Linked DNA regions of Homo sapiens: region 1 is linked to region 2. The links are contacts of gene promoters, found by promoter capture Hi-C in blood cells and fetal thymus (Javierre and others, 2016). All regions are on one chromosome and are shown on one strand. Each heading gives the region's core, a stretch centred on a gene start or on the middle of the fragment in contact. The rest is flanking DNA. Distances are from core to core; before and after follow the strand shown. Region 1 holds the start of LOC105373156 (a long non-coding RNA gene). Region 2 holds the start of STS (steroid sulfatase).

What was found. Contacts are between HindIII fragments. The CHiCAGO score rates a contact against its expected background, and 5 or more counts as called.
Region 1: a contact is called between a fragment that was not itself captured here and the fragment with the promoter of STS in region 2, in 1 of 17 cell types (fetal thymus). The highest score is 5.1, in fetal thymus.

The regions. Positions count from the first base shown.
Region 1 is chrX:6,219,484-6,226,880 of GRCh38, forward strand. The region is part of intron 1 of NLGN4X (neuroligin 4 X-linked); the gene reads right to left. LOC105373156 (a long non-coding RNA gene) reads left to right here and starts at 6,875. Exons shown (of 1, transcript NR_136577.1): 1 at 6,875-7,397. The HindIII fragment of the contact is 2,132 bases long and covers 4,972-7,103 here.
Region 2 is chrX:7,145,228-7,151,639 of GRCh38, forward strand. It overlaps STS (steroid sulfatase), which reads left to right and starts at 2,485. Exons shown (of 11, transcript NM_001320752.2): 1 at 2,485-2,856. It overlaps PUDP (pseudouridine 5'-phosphatase), which reads right to left and starts at 2,926. Exons shown (of 4, transcript NM_012080.5): 1 at 2,826-2,926. The coding sequence starts at 2,886. It overlaps MIR4767 (microRNA 4767), which reads left to right and starts at 2,633; the gene lies at 2,633-2,710. RefSeq lists a silencer at 2,446-3,165 and an enhancer at 3,356-3,405. The HindIII fragment of the contact is 8,353 bases long and covers 1,270-6,412 here.

The DNA.
Region 1 (7,397 bases), core at 4,788-7,287, 920 kb before region 2:
TCCCTTCGATCTATCATCCTTCTCCCTCCCTCCCTGCTTCCTTTCTTCCTTCCTTTTCTCTTTTCTTTCTTTCTTTCTTTCTTTCTTTCTTCCTTCCTTCCTTCCTTCTTTCCTTCCCTCCCTTCCTCCCTTCGTTCCTCCATCCCTTCCTTCTTCCTTCCGTCCTTTCTTCCTTCCTTCTTCCCTTCCTTCTTTCTTCCCTCATTCCTTTATTCTATTTGGATGAGTGACAAGGTCTCAGGGATCCTTAAAGTATTAAAGAGAAAATGAAGATAATTCTATAGAATAACAGATCAAATAGGAAAGAGTAATGAAAAGAAAGACTCCTGGAATGACAAAGAAGCATGTTCATGACAATTTAATAGAATTTCCCACATGCCATATTTGTATAGCTGGTTATATTTTAAAACTTTGTCAAACCCTATATTTATAAAACCTTGATTTTGATTTTAGTAAATTCTATGAATAAATGCATACATAAAGCAGATTACTTTGATTCGACAAAAACATACAGGCACCTGTGAGCTTTTTTTTTTTTTATGTGGTAGTGGAAACAGCCTCATTAATTAATGGCTATTTCCTATATTCTTTTTAAAATTAATAAGCAACAGTCAGATATTTCAGCATTTTTAAGGCATGAACAATACCTTGGATTCTAATATATTTTAGTCTAAAATATCTGGTAACATCACAGATAATTGTTTCAAACTCTACCACCCCTCACACAATTTATTTTTCAACAATTTAAAGTCTTTTAGAATAATGAGATAACCTTAAAAATAGACAACATTACTCATACTGGTGAGCTAGGATTGCTTAAAGATGAGGCATAGATTGCATTGTCTCAGAGGAAAATATTTCTCAGAGGGACCAAGAGAAATAAAGGTGAGAATCTTCTACAAAGGCAGATAAAAGGGTTATGAGTTTAGCGTTGGTAAAGGGTGCCTAGTTTGATCTTTGTAAAAGTTGTCTATTTCTCCATACAAGTACACAACATTGCACAATATTGATGGACAAGAGAGGGTAGAATTTTGTCACACATAGATAGTTTCACTATAAACATAGGCGGTAACACCTTTTTTGGAACTAGTACTCAAATTAGAAAAAAAAAGCTTCCAGGAGACCTAGAGAAAATGGACACCTGTCCCTTAAACACATACTTTCTACTTACTTAGGTCTCATGTTAACGAATGTCTTCACTCCTAAATAAGGAGTACATCCAGACCCATCATAGGTAACTTTATAACTTTCTTTTTTTTTTTTTTTTTTTTTGAGACAGAGTCTCGCTCTGTCACCCAAGCTACAGTGCAATGGCACGATCTTGGCTCACTGCAACCTCCCCCTCCCAGGTTCAAGCAATTCTCCGGCCTCAGCCTCCTGTATAGCTGGGATTACAGGCACACACCACCACACCCAGCTAGTTTTTGTATTTTTAGTAGAGACAGGATTTCGCCATGTTGGCCAGGCTAGTCTTGAACTACTGACCTCAGGTGATTCGCCCACCTCAGCCTCCCAAAGTGCTGGGATTACAGGCGTGAGCCACCACGCCTGGCCAACTTTATAACTTTCATTGTACATTTTCTATTTTTATTTATTATTTATTTATTTATTTATTTATATTTTTAGAGATAGGGTCTTGCTCTGTCTCCCAGGCTGGAGTACACTGGCGTAATCATAGCTCACTGCAGCCCTGAACTCCTGGGCTCAAGTGATCCTCCCACCTCAGCTGGAACCACAGGTACTTGCCATCAGGCCCGGCTAATTTGTTTTTAATTTTTGTTTCTTTGTGGAGTTGGGGTCTCACTCTATTACCCAGGCCAGATGTTATGAGTTGTTTAATATAGATTTGGTGAATGATGAGGATAAGAAAAAGAAAATAATGGAAAACCACATTTTTCCTTCTTATATTATATATATATATATATATATATATATATATATATATATTTGCTTTTATCTAATGTGTTGCAATGGCTGAGAAAAACATTTTCAGCAAAGACTAGTTCCTAGTTAATGTGTTAGCATATGCATACATGTATGTGTATACACCCGCTCATACACACTGCCATTCTTACCATGTAGCTTCAGGGCATGAGGGCATATTGTCTCACTTAGGAAAACAGTTAACAATGACATATTTTGTTTGTGAAAACATGCATTTACTTTTGTGAGTTTCCCCACCTAACCCATTCACAGAGTTATAGTCACAGAGAGTACTGAAGAGTGGAATAAGTTAAAGGCACTCAGTTGCAGCGAGCTTCTTCTGCCCCCATCCCCCATGCTTTTGAGACCACAGTTCCATGCTGAACAGCTCTGACCATTGGAGTCACACGGCATGCCTCACTGAGTTCTTGGACTTGCCCGTCCCATACTCCAGAGCCACATATTGGTGGTGTTGAAATACTAAACATGGAAAATGGCACCGCATGCAACTTCACCACAGCCATCATCACAGAACCAAAGAGGCCTTTTCTGCACTTTACAAAAACAAACCACAATTCACCATAGCTCTTTTATCAGTGCCAATAACACTTTTAGTAACCTCAGTCCTTTCTTTTTTAAAGGATCCAAAAACTTACCAAGTAATGCAACTTGAAACAACCCAAGTTCCTTTTCAGCTTATATGACAGGCTAAGTTTCACTCCTGAAAAAGGTGCCCTTAGCAAAATCCGTGTCCCCTCTCCCCAACCAAAGCATACAAACAACCAAACAAAAACAAACAGAAAATGAGCCTGGATGAAGGGTTGATGTGGGAGCCGGACAGATGCCCACAGATGTTAATAAAATCACATGTCTGGGGTGATGGCTTTGAGATCCAAGTTTTCATCATCCAATCAGGTACCAGCCTCTTAAAACCAAAATGATCACCGATATTAACAGGTGGAGCTAAGAAAGTCCTGTTGTAAGCCAAAAATAGCACTCTGTTACTTTGACAAACCATGATTTCTTTATATAATATACATTTTAAATAAAACAACCCAAACAAAATTCTGGGCCATTTATCCACATTTCCAGAGAGCAGTGAAAGCCTAGATCGTTTCATTAGCACTATACTGAAATTAACATTTCTCTCTTTGAAATGTATTCCTCAACTAATGAGGACCTAAATGTTCATTGTACTTCATCTCCTTTCTAAATTATGGAGGATTACTCTTTTCCTGTCTCAAATAAATTCAATAAAACCTCATGATATGGTTTGGCTTTGTCCCCACCAAACCTCATCTTGGATTGTAGCTCCCATAATCCCCACGTGTCGTGGAGGGATGTGGTGGGAAGTAATTGAATCATGGGGGCAGTTTGCCCCATGCTATTCTTATGATAGTGAGTAAGTTCTCACAAGATCTGTTGATTTTATAAGGGGTTTCCCCCTTCACTCGGTTCTCATTCCTCTCCTTCCTGCCATCATGTGAAGAAGGAAGTATTTGCTTCCCCTTCCACCATGATTGTAAGTTTCCTGAGGCCTCTCCAGCCATGCTGAACTGTGAGTCATTTAAACCTCTTTCCTTTACAAATTACCCAGTCTTGGGTATGTCTTTTTTAGCAGCCTGAGAATGGATTAATACACCTCATCTCACTATATATATAATAATAAGATATATAGTGTATTTTTATATACATGATGCAGACCTTACTATAATATGTATTACCATATATATATTATATAGTAGGATACATATCTTACTATATATAGTTTTTTATATACGTATTTTAGTATTGTTGGGGTTAGGTCTGTTCTCCTTCAGGTACCATTTCTGGGAAGATGAGAGTGCCTTGGGAAGATGTGGTGTATGGAGGTGTTCCGCACACACCTGGGACACGTGAACTGAACACGAGATGTCTAAAGTTTGAAATCTCAGCCCGAGGTAGATGGGCTGTTTTCCACCACCAACCTTCCACTCCCGTAATGATTTTATGAGGCTTTTATTTACTTATTTTTTGTTTAATGTAACCACCTGCAGAGGGAAAGCCTTTTCATCTATACATTTATTCAAAGCCTATAAATGGCACAATGACAAACTGCTAGGAGCTATCACCTTCTTTTTTTTCTTGTTCATGTGTGCTACTGTGCTCCAAGAAAAATGAGGAAGGGCTTCCTACACTGCCGTTCACTTAACAAAGAACAGTGGAGCCTTTCAAAGTCCAAATGTAGGTTGTTTAGAGAAAAATGACAGAACTGGAAAATATTCGTTGAGTGAATGGTAGTAGAGAGCACAGCAGATGACCTAATTGCCTCAGCAGCCTGGGCTTCAATTTTGATTCTCACTTCCTCTAATTGACTGTGCAAAAGATGTATCTTTGATTTAAAACTGGTAGCTCAGGAGTTTAAGAAATCAGTGGTGGCTATTCAAATCTGTCTGAATATCCATTCACATAATTAAATAGGAGACGAAGTCTCTCCTCTGAAAAAGTACAGTACTCAGACAAAAACACACACAAAAAGAGCAACAGATTTAAACTAAACTGAACATATTTCCCCATTTGGGAATAGAATACATATTGTTAAAAGGCAGAAAGCAGTACAGAAAGAATACATTCTGGTTTACAAACTAAAATCGTGTCTCTTACACTTGACATTCACATCTTAAGACCAACTCTCACCTTATTTGGAATATAAGTATATTTTAACCAGATAAGCCTATCTTTAGAAGGAGGATACTAAAGGACTTAAAATATTTGTATATTGCTACTTCATTTGAATGCAATGCATTCGCTCAACAAGTTGCATTATTGGCAATATTCAACAGTATTACAAAAGGTTTGAAATGTGGCGTACCAATTAAAAAGAAAGAATGTTAAACGGAGGTCATTCCCTCGTGCACTTGAATGTTTAGTTTTTTGAGAACCTTTTGGTTGTGGTCTAGAAATAAAAGCACAGTATTCCAAATGGCTTTTAAAGAGACCCCTGCACTTCCAAAAGCAAGTCTCTGTTGCGGAGTCAGTCAACACTCTCATCTTTGTGGAGAGACTATAAGCTTTCCACAAATTACTACACACAAAACAATGAAATAGCCAAGTTCACAAATTTTAAAAAATCTATATATTTACCATTAGGCTACATTCCAGGCCAACAACTATGAACTTTCAAATTCTTTCAAGTCTGCTTGTAAATTTCACAGCATCAAGATAACTTCATTATCTACCTTATGCAGCCACCAGTCCCTTATCAAGTATCTGTTACATTCTCAGGTTTGGGTAAAAATCAGCTAGGTTACTGGTTTGAGGGCCAACTGTATACTCGGCATTAGTTTATTTAAATAAAACGCAAAGAAAAGTAGCAATTCTTCCACTGGAGAAGAAAACATCAAAGCATCTTTAAAACTGCATCCACGCACAGGCATTATTATGAAAATGCAATTATTATTCTGATTTCAAAAAAAAATGAAGCCTTCCATTTTAATCTACTGACTTAAAACTGATGAAGTAATTTTCCACTTGCTACAACTGGCCCTGATTATGTTCTTACATGTCAAAGAAAATACTCTTTAAAATGGCCATATATATATATATATATATATATATATATATATACACACACACACACATATATGTAGAAATGTAGAATGCGTGTGTGTATGTCTGTATACACACATACACACACACGCATTCTACATTTCATTGAGTAATAAAATACTGAATTTCTAATCTGAGAAAATACATGCTTGCAGAGTTCTCCATGAAATTCCTGTATTCTTAATTTTAGGATACACAGAAATTCCATATTTTTTTCTGGAAATACAGGGATTAATGCAACCATGTGCCATTAGCCATCCCTCCCCCACTTAACATTTTGCTCATTTCCACAGGAAAATCTATGCTGAGGATTTAATGGATTACTGCTAACATCTTCCCCACAGCCAACTAAAGGTATGAAATAATTCTCCACTCTCCAAATCTGCCCCCACAAAACGGCAGATTTCTTTGCTATCTGATTTCACCCCGCTCTGCCATCCCCTAGGAAAAGGCTCAGTGCGTCCATTCAAACCATGCAGGTCTCTTGCAGTTTCTGCCGCTTTGTTCTCATCAAAGTCAGGTGTTTGCACCCTGGCCATTTAATTTCTAGCTGGAGAAGGAAGCTACCCCGGATTTCTTAAGCATGCACTTCTATGTTGCCCGCAGAACGCCCACACAAACTGGCAATTCTGCTTCGTCAGGATAACGAGGTCTCCCTAAACTTTTTCTTTTCCTTTTTTTTCTTTCTTTTTTTCTTTTTTTTTTTTTTTTTTTTTTTTTTTTTTTTGCTTTTGCCTTCCTCACATCACCGGAAGGGCTGATTCTGAGATGGGAGCTCACGCACACCACCCCCTTTCAAGAAAATATAATGCAACGCGCTCCGATGTAAACCCTACGGGCAACGGATGCCTTCAAAAAGCATAAGATAAGAGCAACAACAACAACAACAAACCACCGCCCCCCCCAAAAAAAATGACCAAATAGAAATAAAATAAAATAAAAATAAAAAGAAGCCATACTACCACCTTGTGGATCCAGCTCGCAAGAACATCACCTGCTTAGTTCCAAAACCCCCACCCAACCCCCACCCCAAATTTCTTAAGTTGGGTCCAAATGACAGATCGGGATCCTCTGTCCTCACTCCCCGCAGACTCGCCCAAGCCCTAGGCTGAATTCGTGACGCGCGCGCCCAGCACCCGGGCGAGTTGCAAGCCCCGGCGCACCGCAGGGGCCAAAACCCCGCCGGAACCTCCTAGGACCCCTTCACGCTGCCTCCTGCACCCCCTCCCCCGCCATCCCCGAGATAGCAGCAGCACATACACAAAAAGAGGCTGACACCTGCCGTAGGTTCAGAGGAAGAAGGCAGAGAAAAAGAAACCCGCAGTCCGGAAAAAAAAAAAGCCTTCTGGGGAAGGGGAGGGGTATGATGCGGAGGACGTCCTCCGGCTGCCCCTCGCTCTCCATGCAGAACATCCGTTCCCAGGGTGGCCCGGGCCAGGCCTCGGGGGTGCAAGGGTTGGCCTGACCCCCCTGCTCCCGCCCCCGCCGCTCCGGGAAGAAAGGGCGCTGTGTCTGGCGGCGAGCAGGCGCCGGAATCGTGCGCTCGGGCCCAGGGTTGCACGGAGCACTGGGCCCGGATACCGGGGGCGCAAAGCTTCGGGTGCGGCCCAGGAGAACCCCGCCGAGGGACCCCAGCCTACCGGTTCTCGGAGGGGCGAAAGAGCCAGGTCAGGTTGAGGGACAGGAGGAGGAAGGGGTGTCCAGGAGACTGACTGAAGGATGAGAGTGTCCTCCGGGGTAGCGACCGGCCTCTTGGAAAACCAGAGGCGGAGGGAGCAGCCGCGGAGTGGAGGGCGCAGGCCGGGACCTGGGCCTCTCCTCCCACAGCAAGCCCCCCACCCACGCATCATCTGCAGCCGAGCGGCACCTACCTCCCTCTCCCTACC
Region 2 (6,412 bases), core at 1,235-3,734:
CATACATCATCCAAATCAATGTCATCTGTATCTTTTTACTTATTAAAAATTGCTCCCCAAAATTTTTACCTGGCTCAATTCTATGAGACAGAACTGCTCTGGACAACAAACTGTCTTCTCTTTTAAAGAAATTGGGACCATCTTTTGTGTTCCTAATTTCAGTTATTTACAAACAGAATAATCTTCCCTGTCCAGCTGCTGAGATACTGTTTAATAATTGTCATCTTCTTATTTCAAAATCATCCCAGTTTTTAACTAATCCCACTCCCCTACTCTCTTTCTCTGAATGGCATTTGAGAGCCAAAATTATTAATATTACCTAAATCATAACTGACTCTTACCTTGGTCATGAGAAACAGAAACCGAAGTGTATTTTTTTTTTTTTTTAAAGGACAACTAACAGCATCGTGCATGTCAAAAGCATGGGAAAGTGTCCTGGCTTTCTTCCTGGTCAACATTTCCTCTAAAATCTCCATTTACTTCCTCATTCTCCTCTGATTAAACAATCTTCTCCTCTAATGTTAACAATCCTCCATGAAACTATTCGTTTTCAATTTTACTTCCCCAAGTATGCAAGTATTGGGGCTACATAGACAAACAGAACTTCCTAGAAAAATGCATTCAAAATTCCCGAAAAACAGACCTATTGTAAAATAACTCATTATAAATTGATAGTATATTGTTATGCAAACAACAGATACACTGAAGTGAGGTGCTAAAGAATGACAGCAGGCATAATCTGGTAGATTAAATTAAAGTGGCACATCTTGGAAAGCTGTGTTTTATATTTACACATTTGGTGAAAGAATGGGATAAACAAAGGTATATTTCCAAGAAAGTTTTGCAAGGCCTTACCACCTCAAAGAAGAGGTAGGGCAGGAAAGGAGGAAATGGGCAGAAAATGAGGGGGGGGAATAAAAAGAAGCAGGGCTTATTTTTCCAAATAGCACTAATTCTTGGTTATCTGACTAGATCAGAGGATTGGGTAACAATGTGAGGTCAATGCTTGTAATGCCATTTAAGTCACATTCATCACTTCAGGGCATGGCTATGTGTGAATCTAGAATCAGAATTAGGCACCAAGCTCATTTAGAAGTTTAATAAATTTAATTTTAATGAGACATCTTGTTTGGTATTAAAATTCATGAGACTCCCAGAACAGGTTCTCTGGACCTTTATTAGAGGATAAGAAATTTATTTGACAATTTAACTTTTTGACCACCGGAGTAGGAAAATTCATGTCTACAAACTATACCTATGTATCCCACAAGCTTTCTGAAATTGAGTCATTTCAAATTTAGTAGCTGCATACACCGTTGGCTCCAATTAGTGACCTCTACGGGGATTTTTTTTTTCCTTTGGAATTCATCAGTTTACACCTCTGTGTTCATAAAATGAAGAGAATGGTTTCTGCATGCCTTTTTAAAAGGAAACACTGCTAGGGAATTACCCAGCAATATGATGAGCAGAAACAAGGTCACATTCACAATTTAAGATGAGCTCAACATCATTTATATTTAGAACTGGATCAATCCAGAATCGTTTCTCAGCTTGGCTTATTAGCTGTGTGACCTTGGGCAAGTAGCTTTACCTCTCTGAGCTGCAGGGTTTTTTTTTTTTTTTTTTTTTTAATTAGTGACATGCAAATACTTCCTCCTAACTTGCAGGGTTTTGAAATGAAGGAATGATATACGTAACCAAGCAGGTCAGCTGTCTACAAAGAGTATGCAGACATGTTTATAGATATATGAAGCCTCCTGGTGATTATGTGTCATAGTGTTAACTGTGTCAAGGCTTTCGGTAGAGCTCAGCATAGTTCTGTCTTGAGTTAAAAACAGGGTTTTATTCTTTGAATTCTACTTGAATTCCTCTTGGCTGGTGAAGTTCACATGTGCTAAGACTGACTACCTTAGTACACTGCCAAGGGTTTCTTAATGCCTCGGATTGATAGAGCAGCTGTTCTCAAACGTTCACGCGCTTAAAATGCAGATTCTGATTGGGCAGGGGTAGGGTGGGGCCCCAGCTTCTACATTTACAAGTAGCCCACAGGTGATGTCCCCGGTGCTGGTCACCCTAGGCAGCCAGGCCACTTGACGGACCTTCTGTGCCTCTACACTGTTGACGGCGCGGGATAATTCCTTATGGTTGCATAGGGCACTCCTGTGCACTGCGGGAAGTTTAACAGTATCACTGGTCTGGACTCCACTAGATGCCAGTGACCCCATCACTCCTCGCCAGCTGTGACAGCCAAAATGTCTCCTGACATCGCCATTGCCAGATGCCCTCAGGGCTGCAAAACCGCCAGGTAGAGAACCGCTACCATGCAGGATGCTACCATCAAAGTGCGCCCACAGCAGCAACCTTGGAGCAGGCAGGCAAGTATCCTCCAGGCTACTTTGCAGACGGGGAAGCTGAGGCTGGGCACCGCTCAAGGTCGCACGCATGCGTAACCGAAAAGAGAGCGCGGAGGTCCCGCCGCGCCTCGCTCTGAGGAGAGGACGCGGAGCCGCGCGCCCGCCCGGTGGACCCCAGGGACTGCTCCCACGTGCTCCGGCCCCACGCGCGGGCCGCCGACCGGAAGCGGGTGCTGGGGCCGCGTAGACGCCGCGGCCACGCGCGCCCGCCAGCCCGGACATGGGCCCGCGGGCGCTCCTGGCCGCCGCCCGACTTCGGGGCCAGCCGGGGGCAGAGCGCGCGGGAGCCCGAGCGTCCCTGCATGAACACCGCCCCGCCGCGGCCCCCAGGCCGTGACGTACCCCGCGCCGACCGTCCCCACGCCCACACAAGACCGCCCTTACTGGAGGCGGCGGCTGCACACTACCCACCCAGAAGAAGTCCGTCCATGTCAAAGATGAGGTGGGTGACGGGCTGCGGGGGCGCCGCCATGGTGGCGCCTTCTGGGTCTGGGTGGGGGCGAGGAGGAAGTGCGCGCGCACCCGCCCGCCCCGCGCACGCGCACTGAGGACCTTCTCGCGCGCCCGGGGTCGCTCTGCGCACGCGCCTTCCGCGGCCCCTCGCCCGGCTCCGAGCCCGCGCGTCCTGGGCTGCCTAGTGGCGCTCCGCGCACGCGCACCTTGGGCTTTCGCCGCAGCTGTAGCTGCAGACCCGGGATGCGGCGCGGGCCGGCGCTGTATGTTTACCCGCATCAATTCCTCCTCACTTCACACCCGGAATCGGGCCAAGCTACTCAGCCAGCGGCCGCGCAGAGCCGAGGCCCTCGTCTGGGGACAAATTCAGTGCTTGAGTTTGGATCAGGGGTGTGAATGAGGAAGGAGGGACAGTACAAGGGGCTGTAGAGTGGGGAAAGGGGATTGAAGATGCTCAGGGTGGTATCACTTCTAGCCATCAGGTTGCAGACAAATGGCCTTGGTCAGGAGGTCCCTGGGTGGGTTCGCCCGAGCCCCCAGTCCCTGGACCGTGGGTGGGTTTTTCTCAGTTTCGCTTGCCCGCCTCCTTGCGGTCCTGGACCGCGACTTGAACCGGCAGCCGCGCATGCGCAGTGTGCGGAGAGGCTGCACAACCTCCGTGCCTGCATCTCTGAGCATCCCAGGCTGGTGCATTGTCCCAGAGCAAAGCCAAGCTGCTCAAGGAGGATGCTGAAATAATACTAACAGTCAACATGTCTTGCTGGTTGTGCCTTCTTAGGTATCATCTGTCTTTTGGGCTGCTCTGAGTTTTCTTTCTTTTTTAACTTTTCAAATGCCACCTAAACAGCTTTCTTTTTTTTTTTTCCCGTTTGCCATCGTCAAAAAAATACTTTTTTGTCCCTGTTTCTATTTCGTGTTCGTTTATGTGGTATATTCACGTTTAAGGAAAAGGATTGGACCTTTTGAGAAGCGGAAATAGGAGAATTTCAAGACTTTAAAAACGTGAGGGTGTGCTGGGCGCAGTGGCCCACACCTGTAATCCCAGTACTTAGGGAGGCAGAAGTGGGAGTTGGGGGAATAGTTTGAGCCCAGAAGTTTAAGAACTGCCTGGGCAATATAGCGAGACCCTGTTCTCCACAAAAGGGGAAAAAGACAAAAAAAAAAAGGTGTAAACATGAGAGTGTATTTCTAGTTTAGTGCAGACATAGTGGACAGGGGCATGCCTGGATTCAGCAAGAATTATTATCTATGATAGACAAAGTGCACCTGTGTCTGTTTCCTCCTGGGTAAAATGGAGGTGATAAAGGAGGTGAGGCAGGCCAAGCCCTTAGTACCAGTGCATAATATATAGTCAATAAAATTATGTGTTCTTAGAGGTGGTACTATAAGAGAGCTTCCCCCATTTAATGCAATCGTGATTTCCCTTTGAGGACACGGGATTTCAGAGAAGGCAATTTATGAGCAAATTAGGTAGGGACTTGCGCCTCAAATACAGTCGTTCGTGGTTTCTGTATTAGTTTACTACAGCTGCCATAGTAATATACCACAGACTAAGTAACCTAAACAGCAGATGTGTATTGTGTCACAGATCTGGAGGCCAGAAGTCCTAGATCAAGATGTCAGCAGTCTTAATTCCTTCTGAGGGCTGTGAGGAAAGGACCTATTCCAGGTCTTTCTCCTCAGCTTGAACCTGCTTTCCTTTCCCTGTATCTTGTCCTATCGTCTTCCCTCTGTGTGTGTCTCTGTGTCCAAATTTTCTCCTTTTATAAGAACACGATTCTTATTGGACTAAGGACCACCCTAATAACTACATTTTAATTTGATTACCTCTGACAAAATCCTGTTTCCAAATAAGGTCACATTCTGAGGTAGCGGGGATGAGGACTCCAACATATATTTTTGGGAACACAATTCCATAATAGATGCATTGCACACACATAGCTGTGGTACCTACAGTAAGTATGACAGTATTTCCCACCTGGAGTCTGTAGAATTCTCCCTCCCAGTTTCCTTCCATTCTCTGGAAACAAATGGATGCACACATGTCAGAGTTACTGTTATTTTTTTGGTATTGTAACCACCTCACATTTCTGTTTAGTCATTAAATTAAAAAAGAGTATTTTTCTTTTTTCTTTCTTCTTTTATGAGACAGAGTCTCACTCTGTCACCCAGGCTGGAGCACGGTGGCGCAATCTCTGCTCACTGCAGCCTCAGCCTCCTGGGTTCAAGTGATTCTCCTGCCTCAGCCTCCCAAGTAGCTGGGATTACAGGCGCCAGCCACCACACCCAGCTAATTTTTGTATTTTTTAGTAGAGATGGGGTTTTACCATGTTGGCCAGGCTGGTCTTGAACTCCTGACCTAGTGATCTGCCCACCTCGGCTTCCCAAAGTGCTGGAATTACAGACGTGAGCCACCGCCCCCGGCCAAAAAAGAGTATTTTTCAAAGGAAAAAAGGCCCCAATGCCATTTTGACGAAATGGCAAAGCCTCACAGCGATTGTGGAAGAGACAGATTGGGAAATCGTAGGTACTTCAGCTCTCCACAGATGTGAAAACATGCTTCACATTATGTTTTTATCAGTCTTATTTTCTACACTTTTCAGTAACATCACTTCTATGCATAAGATGGAAGACTCCTCTTTGCTTAAAAAAAAAAAAACAAACTGAATGGTGAATGCTTCTCTGTCACAAGCTAGATTGGAAAAGAATGAAATTTTGTTCTAGCAATGTGGTTTGTACACATATAACAAGTTAGTTTTTAGCTTTTCATAATTCTCCAACAGCCAAAGATGGGCAGTTTCTATGCTGATGGGGATGCATTTCCTTCCATGAATTACAGTTTACTTTTGTACAGTTGTGTTCTCCCCATGGGACAATAACTTACTTTTCCTGACAATTTTAAGACACAATAGAAATGATCCAGTAAACTACAGTACGATGGCATCAAAAGCACATTATCAATGGGACAAATAAACAGATGCTCTTCTTTCACACAACATGTAAACTTAAACATGCCATTTATTGTGTGTATATATATGCCATCCTGTAGGGAGTCTTAGCTTATTTCAACTTCCTTAGTTTGTTGTCCTGGTTCCTGTGTCTCTGTGCTTTTGTTATCTGTTGTATTTGGTTTCCAGTCTGCTGTATCTGTTTTCTGTGAGCCCACTTTGCCCTGTTATTCTCTTTACTTTTCTAGGGGTACAAATCTTGCCCAGCGTAGATGGAGGGTAACAGGTTGGACTAGGGACCATCTTTCTCAGTGGCTGTACACAGTCTACTTTTCTTGATGATGCTGAGAGACCAGAAAGCTCTGACTTCATCTGATGGGGCCTGAATTTGAGCTCCTCATTGCAGACTTACCTGCCTTCTTCCCCTAGATAGCTGGCTTTGCAACGCTGACTTAGGAAGTCTCTTGCTTCAGAGGCACTGAATATTCTCACCCCTTCCCGCTGCTGCTTTCCTCCAAGCCCAGTGAGCTCTGGAAGGGAGCCTGACATAGATGGCTGAATTCGCCACTCCTGGCTTTGTACTCTCGGACATATCTG